Linked DNA regions of Homo sapiens: region 2 is linked to region 1. The links are contacts of gene promoters, found by promoter capture Hi-C in blood cells and fetal thymus (Javierre and others, 2016). All regions are on one chromosome and are shown on one strand. Each heading gives the region's core, a stretch centred on a gene start or on the middle of the fragment in contact. The rest is flanking DNA. Distances are from core to core; before and after follow the strand shown. Region 1 overlaps LRIG1 (leucine rich repeats and immunoglobulin like domains 1). Region 2 holds the start of PSMD6-AS1 (PSMD6 antisense RNA 1).

Evidence for each region. The method cuts DNA at HindIII sites, captures the fragments that hold promoters and counts their contacts. A CHiCAGO score of 5 or more calls a contact.
Region 2: a contact is called between the fragment with the promoter of PSMD6-AS1 here and a fragment that was not itself captured in region 1, in 1 of 17 cell types (activated CD4 T cells). The highest score is 7.4, in activated CD4 T cells.

The regions. Positions count from the first base shown.
Region 1 is chr3:66,483,306-66,486,281 of GRCh38, forward strand. All of the region lies in intron 1 of LRIG1 (leucine rich repeats and immunoglobulin like domains 1), which reads right to left. Among named protein-coding and RNA genes, the nearest start is that of LRIG1, 16 kb to the right of the region's middle. The HindIII fragment of the contact is 2,792 bases long and covers 105-2,896 here.
Region 2 is chr3:64,010,371-64,013,336 of GRCh38, forward strand. It overlaps PSMD6-AS1 (PSMD6 antisense RNA 1), which reads left to right and starts at 1,594. Exons shown (of 2, transcript NR_189168.1): 1 at 1,594-1,672. PSMD6 (proteasome 26S subunit, non-ATPase 6) reads right to left here. Exons shown (of 8, transcript NM_014814.3): 7 at 508-585; 8 at 181-394. The coding sequence ends at 298. PSMD6-AS2 (PSMD6 antisense RNA 2) reads left to right here. Exons shown (of 3, transcript NR_038286.1): 3 at 1,427-1,873. The HindIII fragment of the contact is 1,623 bases long and covers 698-2,320 here.

The DNA of each region.
Region 1 (2,976 bases), core at 251-2,750:
TGCGTGTCTGAGGATGGGGGTGGGGGCCAATGTCTCACATCTGAAGTCCAAGCTAAAAAGGCCCAGATTTAGAAATGTATCTGCCTGAAGTCTCCTGCCATAGAAGCTTCTATCAATTTACATAGTTACTTGGGCTGGGTCCACAGAGGGCAGGGTAACCTGTCCTTAGTGTTCTCACAGCTCCCTCTGGTCAAGGAAAGCAGTCTTTCTCTCTGCCAGCAGCAAAGAGGGAGAAAAGCTACCTTGGCCTGGTCATCCTTTTTGTCAAAGCAGAGGCCTGAGCAAAGTAAGAGCTCAAGCAACCGAAACCAGCTGCCTGGCGAGGGCTCAGCATAAACTGAGCAGAATAACCACAAGGGGAAGGGTGTCTAGACAGCCTCGGTCTATGGAAGAAGCCACCCTCCCCTGCAGTGTCAACTCTGGAAAAGCAGGCTCCAAAACGCGGCTCCAGCAAAAGAGCAGATGAGAGACCATGTCAACAGCTGGGAAGGGCACCGCGGGCTCCCTCGCCAAACGCAACACAGAGGAGAGCGCCTGAGCCTGGCCCACCTGCCAAGGACAGCCACCAGCAATCCAGCAGGGACGAGGCGCCCGAGGACCTCATGTGGGGACAGTTCACATGCACTGCTTTAACTACAAAGCCACTTCAGTGACAATTCTTGCATATGGGACTTTTCCAAAATTCAGAGAGACCAAAAAGACCGCCAATTCTAAATGTGGCAGGTAAACAGCCTGTCATCTTTTCAACTTCGGTTCTATTTGTTTCTTCTTTCTTTCCATTCTTCTAAGTTTCTCAACACTTAAGAGACTTTGGTGGAGGGTGGTGAGGGGTATAGGAAGCTACTAAACAAGCAAGGTATATTCAGGAAATACACAGATGAAGCCTGGGAGGTCTGAATTATTCTATCTGGCAGAGGTATTTCCACAGGACATACAGGACTCTACAGAATGAATGCCACTATCTCTATCTACACTGGTATCTGTCACGAGCATTTAATGTGTCACAGGCTTCACACTAGATTCTGGGAATACAATGGTGGATTGGAAACAAAGCCAGTCACTGCATTCAGGGAGCTTACAGACTAATGGGGTAGTCAGAAACGAATCAAACATTCACACAAAACTTCTATACATAGCACTGCAGAATCCTCACGATGGGAATCTAACTTAAAGGGAACGTCAGCCATGGTTTCTATGGGGAGAAACGTTTAAGACAGATGAACAGAAATCTGCAAGGCGAAGAGGGAAGACCCATTCTCCAGACAGAGGAAATGGTGGGTGAGGGACATGGGACATGGTGGTATTTAAAAAGTCTTTTTAAAAAGCCCCACGTGGTGGCTGGGACAGGTGGGGCCAGGTAAGAAGCGCGATGAGGGGCAGGTGGACAGTAACAGCTTTAAACAATGGGATTCATGTGCTCCAATTTGCAACTCTGCAAAGACCCCTACAGCTGGGGGCAAGGGGTTGCAAACAGATGTGAGTAAAAAGCTCTCTCCTCCCTCTAAAGTCTGCATAACAAAGTGAAATAGTAATGACAAAAAAAATTTAAGATAAAATTTATACTACAGGCTAGGCATGGTGGCTCACACCTGTAATCCCAGCATTTTGGGAGGCCGAGGCCAGCGATTGCTTGAGCCCAGGTGTTCGAGACCAGCCTAGGCAACATGATGAAACCCTGTCTCTACCCCCAAAAAATACAAAAATTAGCCAGGCATGGTGGTGCACACCTGTAGCCTCAGCTGCTCAGGAGGCTGAGGTGGGAAAATTGCTTGAACCTGTGAGGCAAAGGTTGCAGTGAGTCAAGATCACACCACTGTACTCCAACCTGGGTGACAGATTAAGACCCTCTCAAAAAAAAAAAAAAAAGGAAAAATTATCATACAAAATTATTGATAAATTCCACCTTTCTCCTTCCATCTTGCTGCTACATTCCTTTTCTTTTGAATGAAGGGTGGGGGCAGTGGGTCACTGGCGGCCACAGCACTCTCCCAGGACTACGTACATCTTACAGAGCCACAAATCCAAGGCATGCCAAAGATTTCAGGCGGTGCATAAACTCCATCAGCAGGCTAAACTGTTTATATGTTCTTGAGTTAAAAATACACCACTCGGGTCAGCGTTAACACCAGGGCCTTATCACCAAGGCTGTCTGTGAGCTGGTTACACAAGGCTGGACCATGACTCGCCCATCTTTTAGATGTGTCTCAGTCTGCAAATTATCTAACGATTCATCAGTGAGATGATCATAAAGCCAACAAATATACACGCATTTGAGAAAAACACTTTCCAAACCCAAGGATACTTTACTGTTTATAAATAGTTTACTTTTTTTGATCCCCAAGCATATAATATTCGCAGTTGCTCCAGAAACCAAAGGAACATGGAACAGGAACACAAACCACAACCTAACAGAAACAATAAACAACAGATGGCAAAACATATGTGCATGTTACCACCCCCTTTACCAAACAGGCAAACCAAAAATGGATCTGACACACACGCCTACCAACAAAGAAACACGCTCTTCAAGATCACATTCAAGACACCATGTATAGAGCACCAGCTGTACAGCCAGAACTACACTAGGTGCTTCAAGCCACCAAAGACCAATCGGCCTCCAGGAATTCAGAGACGTCAAAGGGAGGCCAGAAAGAAGGCAGTGCTAGTCTTACCGTATTTTCTTCTAAACATGTACACGCAGGTCTGAATTCTAACTGGCAAGTGCTAGACTCTAAACAAGTCATTCAACTACTCTGGGCCTCATGTATACAACAGAGACAATATTTTTCATAGAGTTAAGATGGTGATGATCAGTTAACACAGATATATCCTGCTGCAGAAAGGTACACTATTATTGCGACAGTTATAATAATAACATTATAGCTACCCTTCCTCAAGCTTCTGCTTGTGTGTTAGGCCCTGTGTTAAATATTTCATTTTTTTCCTTATAACAAGCTTAAGGAAGTCGGCACTACA
Region 2 (2,966 bases), core at 344-2,843, 2.5 Mb before region 1:
ACATCCGTATTTTACTGACGTATTTTACTGATGAGGCAGTCAGGAGCTGAACCTAGCTGAACCCAGCTGCAACCTTACCCTATAAACCAGATTTTCATTAATGAATAATTCAAGTGACATTATTTTAACATAAGTGGACCCGATTCTAGAAGGCCTATGTGTTTAAGAAAAAAATAAATGGAAAGAAACAACAATGCAGTATTTATTTTATACAGCTGACCTGGGCACATTGTGAAGTAAGCTATAAAAATTCCAAATAATTATCTCTAAAGCAAATCCTTTGTTAGTTACATGGCTTTACATATTAATTACTCTGGAAAGTTTTTGAACTCTGTTTAGTAGCAGATCTCCTTTCTTGATAGTTTCTTGGTACTGCCAGTTCTTGCTATCAGGTCTATAAATAAATTCAAGAAAAAATGAATTATTTACCAGTCACATTATTCCATGACAATAGTTGACCTACTTTTAAAATTTAGGAATGCCCCTTATTCTGAGAAATGAGAGTACCTGTTGGTTTCTACTATTTCATTCACTTTATCTATTTTGCAGTGTAGTCTCCCGGCAGCAATAAACCTGGACAGTTCCCTAATTTAGAGACAAAAAATAACAGAATTAGCTTTATAGAAAATTCTTAGAAAAATGCAAACGGCATTAAAATACTGTCTTAAATTTGTAACAAACATTTAGCTTCCCTTCAAGCTTGTTATTGCACATGCAGTAGTTGACGTTGTCCCTCCTATACTGCAGGCTTTAAGTCATCATCTACTAGAATAAACATGATCCTAGAAGTTCATATTCAGATAGATAGAAAGTAGATCAAACAATGAAACCATATGTACTCAGAGAAAAACTGTAGGTTAGGAAAAATTAGGGACCAAAACTGATAAAAACAGTAAACTGTTTCAAACAAAAGACCTAAAACAAAATTATGGAACACAGCCCATCAGTAAACATGTCAACAGCAATAGTATTAACATGTCAACAGCAATAGTATTTACTAAAACAACGACCCTTTCCCTCTCTAACATATCTTAGTCTAAACAAGTGGAAGGGAAGGGGAGAAATGATGTAGAATTATTGCTTTGCCCATTTTAAAAAAGGGGATTTCATCTAAAATGTAACTTTTTAAGGGAGAAAAAAAGAATAAAGAATCCATGACAACCCAGATTTGAAATTCTTAGGTATCACAGAAATTTAAAACAAGGCCTTTTTAGGTAACAACAACTAGAGCTCAGTGGTACAACCTTTGCCTCTCAAGCTGGTCTTAGAACATGAAGGGAAAAAAAAAAAACTGAACAAATACTACCTGAATTCAACTACTACCTGAAAGGTACCAGCTGCCTTGCATTCACTTGTCATCAAGATGACTTAAGGAATACTGCGGTGTGTGCCCCTAACTAATGAAGGCTTTATCTCCACATTACAGTTACGATACTGAAGAGACGTAACCTGACCAAGGCCACAGAGCTGGAAAAAGAAGCAAAGCCAAGCCGTTTTTCTCATGCACTGCTCACAACAAGCCCCTCCTTCCACTGACTCATGAAAAACACACTCATAATGCCCAGCCCGCACCCTAATGAACAGCCCTCTTAAGAGTGGTCATCAGACTTCAATTTCACAGACTAGAATTGAGAAATGGAACAAAACCTTGGGATACCAGCCTTCCATTTTGGTAGGGATCATTTAAAAAATGGTAGGGATCATTTAAAAAATGTGTTGGTGTCTGAAACTTACTTTGAAGTGGTTAAAAAACATAAAATGTATAGATTGTAACAAGCAAATATGTTAAAATGTACTGTACAATTCTTTCTTTACAATTTTATGGATGTTCGAAATTTAAAAAATACTAGAAAGAGAATGGTCTTATTTAAAAGAAATGCATCTTCATTTAAAGTTTCCACTGCAGACCATTGAAAACACCATCATCAACATTTAAAAACACCTACATGTGGGAGCCACTGATCTAGATGCCATCTGGACATCCCATATTGAGTATGTCTCCTACCCAACTCTACTCTCACCACCCTCGTCCACGCCACGGTAACATCTCCTCTAAGAGCTACTAAACAGCACAACTGGTCCTCTCTGCCACCTTACTCTATTTCTTATATAAAGACACTGCATAGGACCATGTAACTTGGGCTCTAAATCTTCCAATGGCTCCCTATCAAACTTACTTAAAACTCAAGCTCCATCCCATGACCTACAAGGCCCTACACAAATCATTACCTACCTAACTCTCCATATATTATCCTCAAAATCTCCTACCACTCCAACTATGCTGGAGCCACCCTGACATTTTCTGTTCCTACAACATCCAAGCTTATTCCTGGCTCAAAGCCTTAGCCTTTTCTATTCCCTTTTCTGCACGCAGAAGGACTCCATATGGCTGACTCCTCTCAATTCAAATCTCAGAGCAAACCTCACCTCCTTAAGCATGCCGTACGTAAGGATAGCATTTTCTCATCTCCATAGGTTCATTTCTATATGTGAAATTACGTTTTATATTTATTTGCTTCCTTGCCATCTCTTCCCTACTACTACAATGAAAGTGTGAAAAGGGAGCTGTAAAACAATACCAAACATATAGTAATGAATGGCTCATTAAGTATTTATTTGTTTAATCACTGATGCAAGTACTAAAAGTCCCACATTTAACAACCAATCTGACCAGAATTGCAGCAGCAACCTAAAAACTGGAAGGAATTATCAGAGGGAATATGACCAACTGTAAATATCAGATCTAAGAGTCATTACCGTAGCTGCAGTGTGGTCTACAAAGAAGTAACAGAAGACAACTTTTGATAACAACTGGTCTAATGACCTTTAACAAATCACTTAGCCTCACTACAACTCATCTTCCCATCTGTTAATGCAAGGGGCAGACATGACATGAGGAAGGCAGAGGCAACAGGATACGAATGTTTTGATAATACTGAGGAAAAAAACCTCTCCCCTCCCCGTTA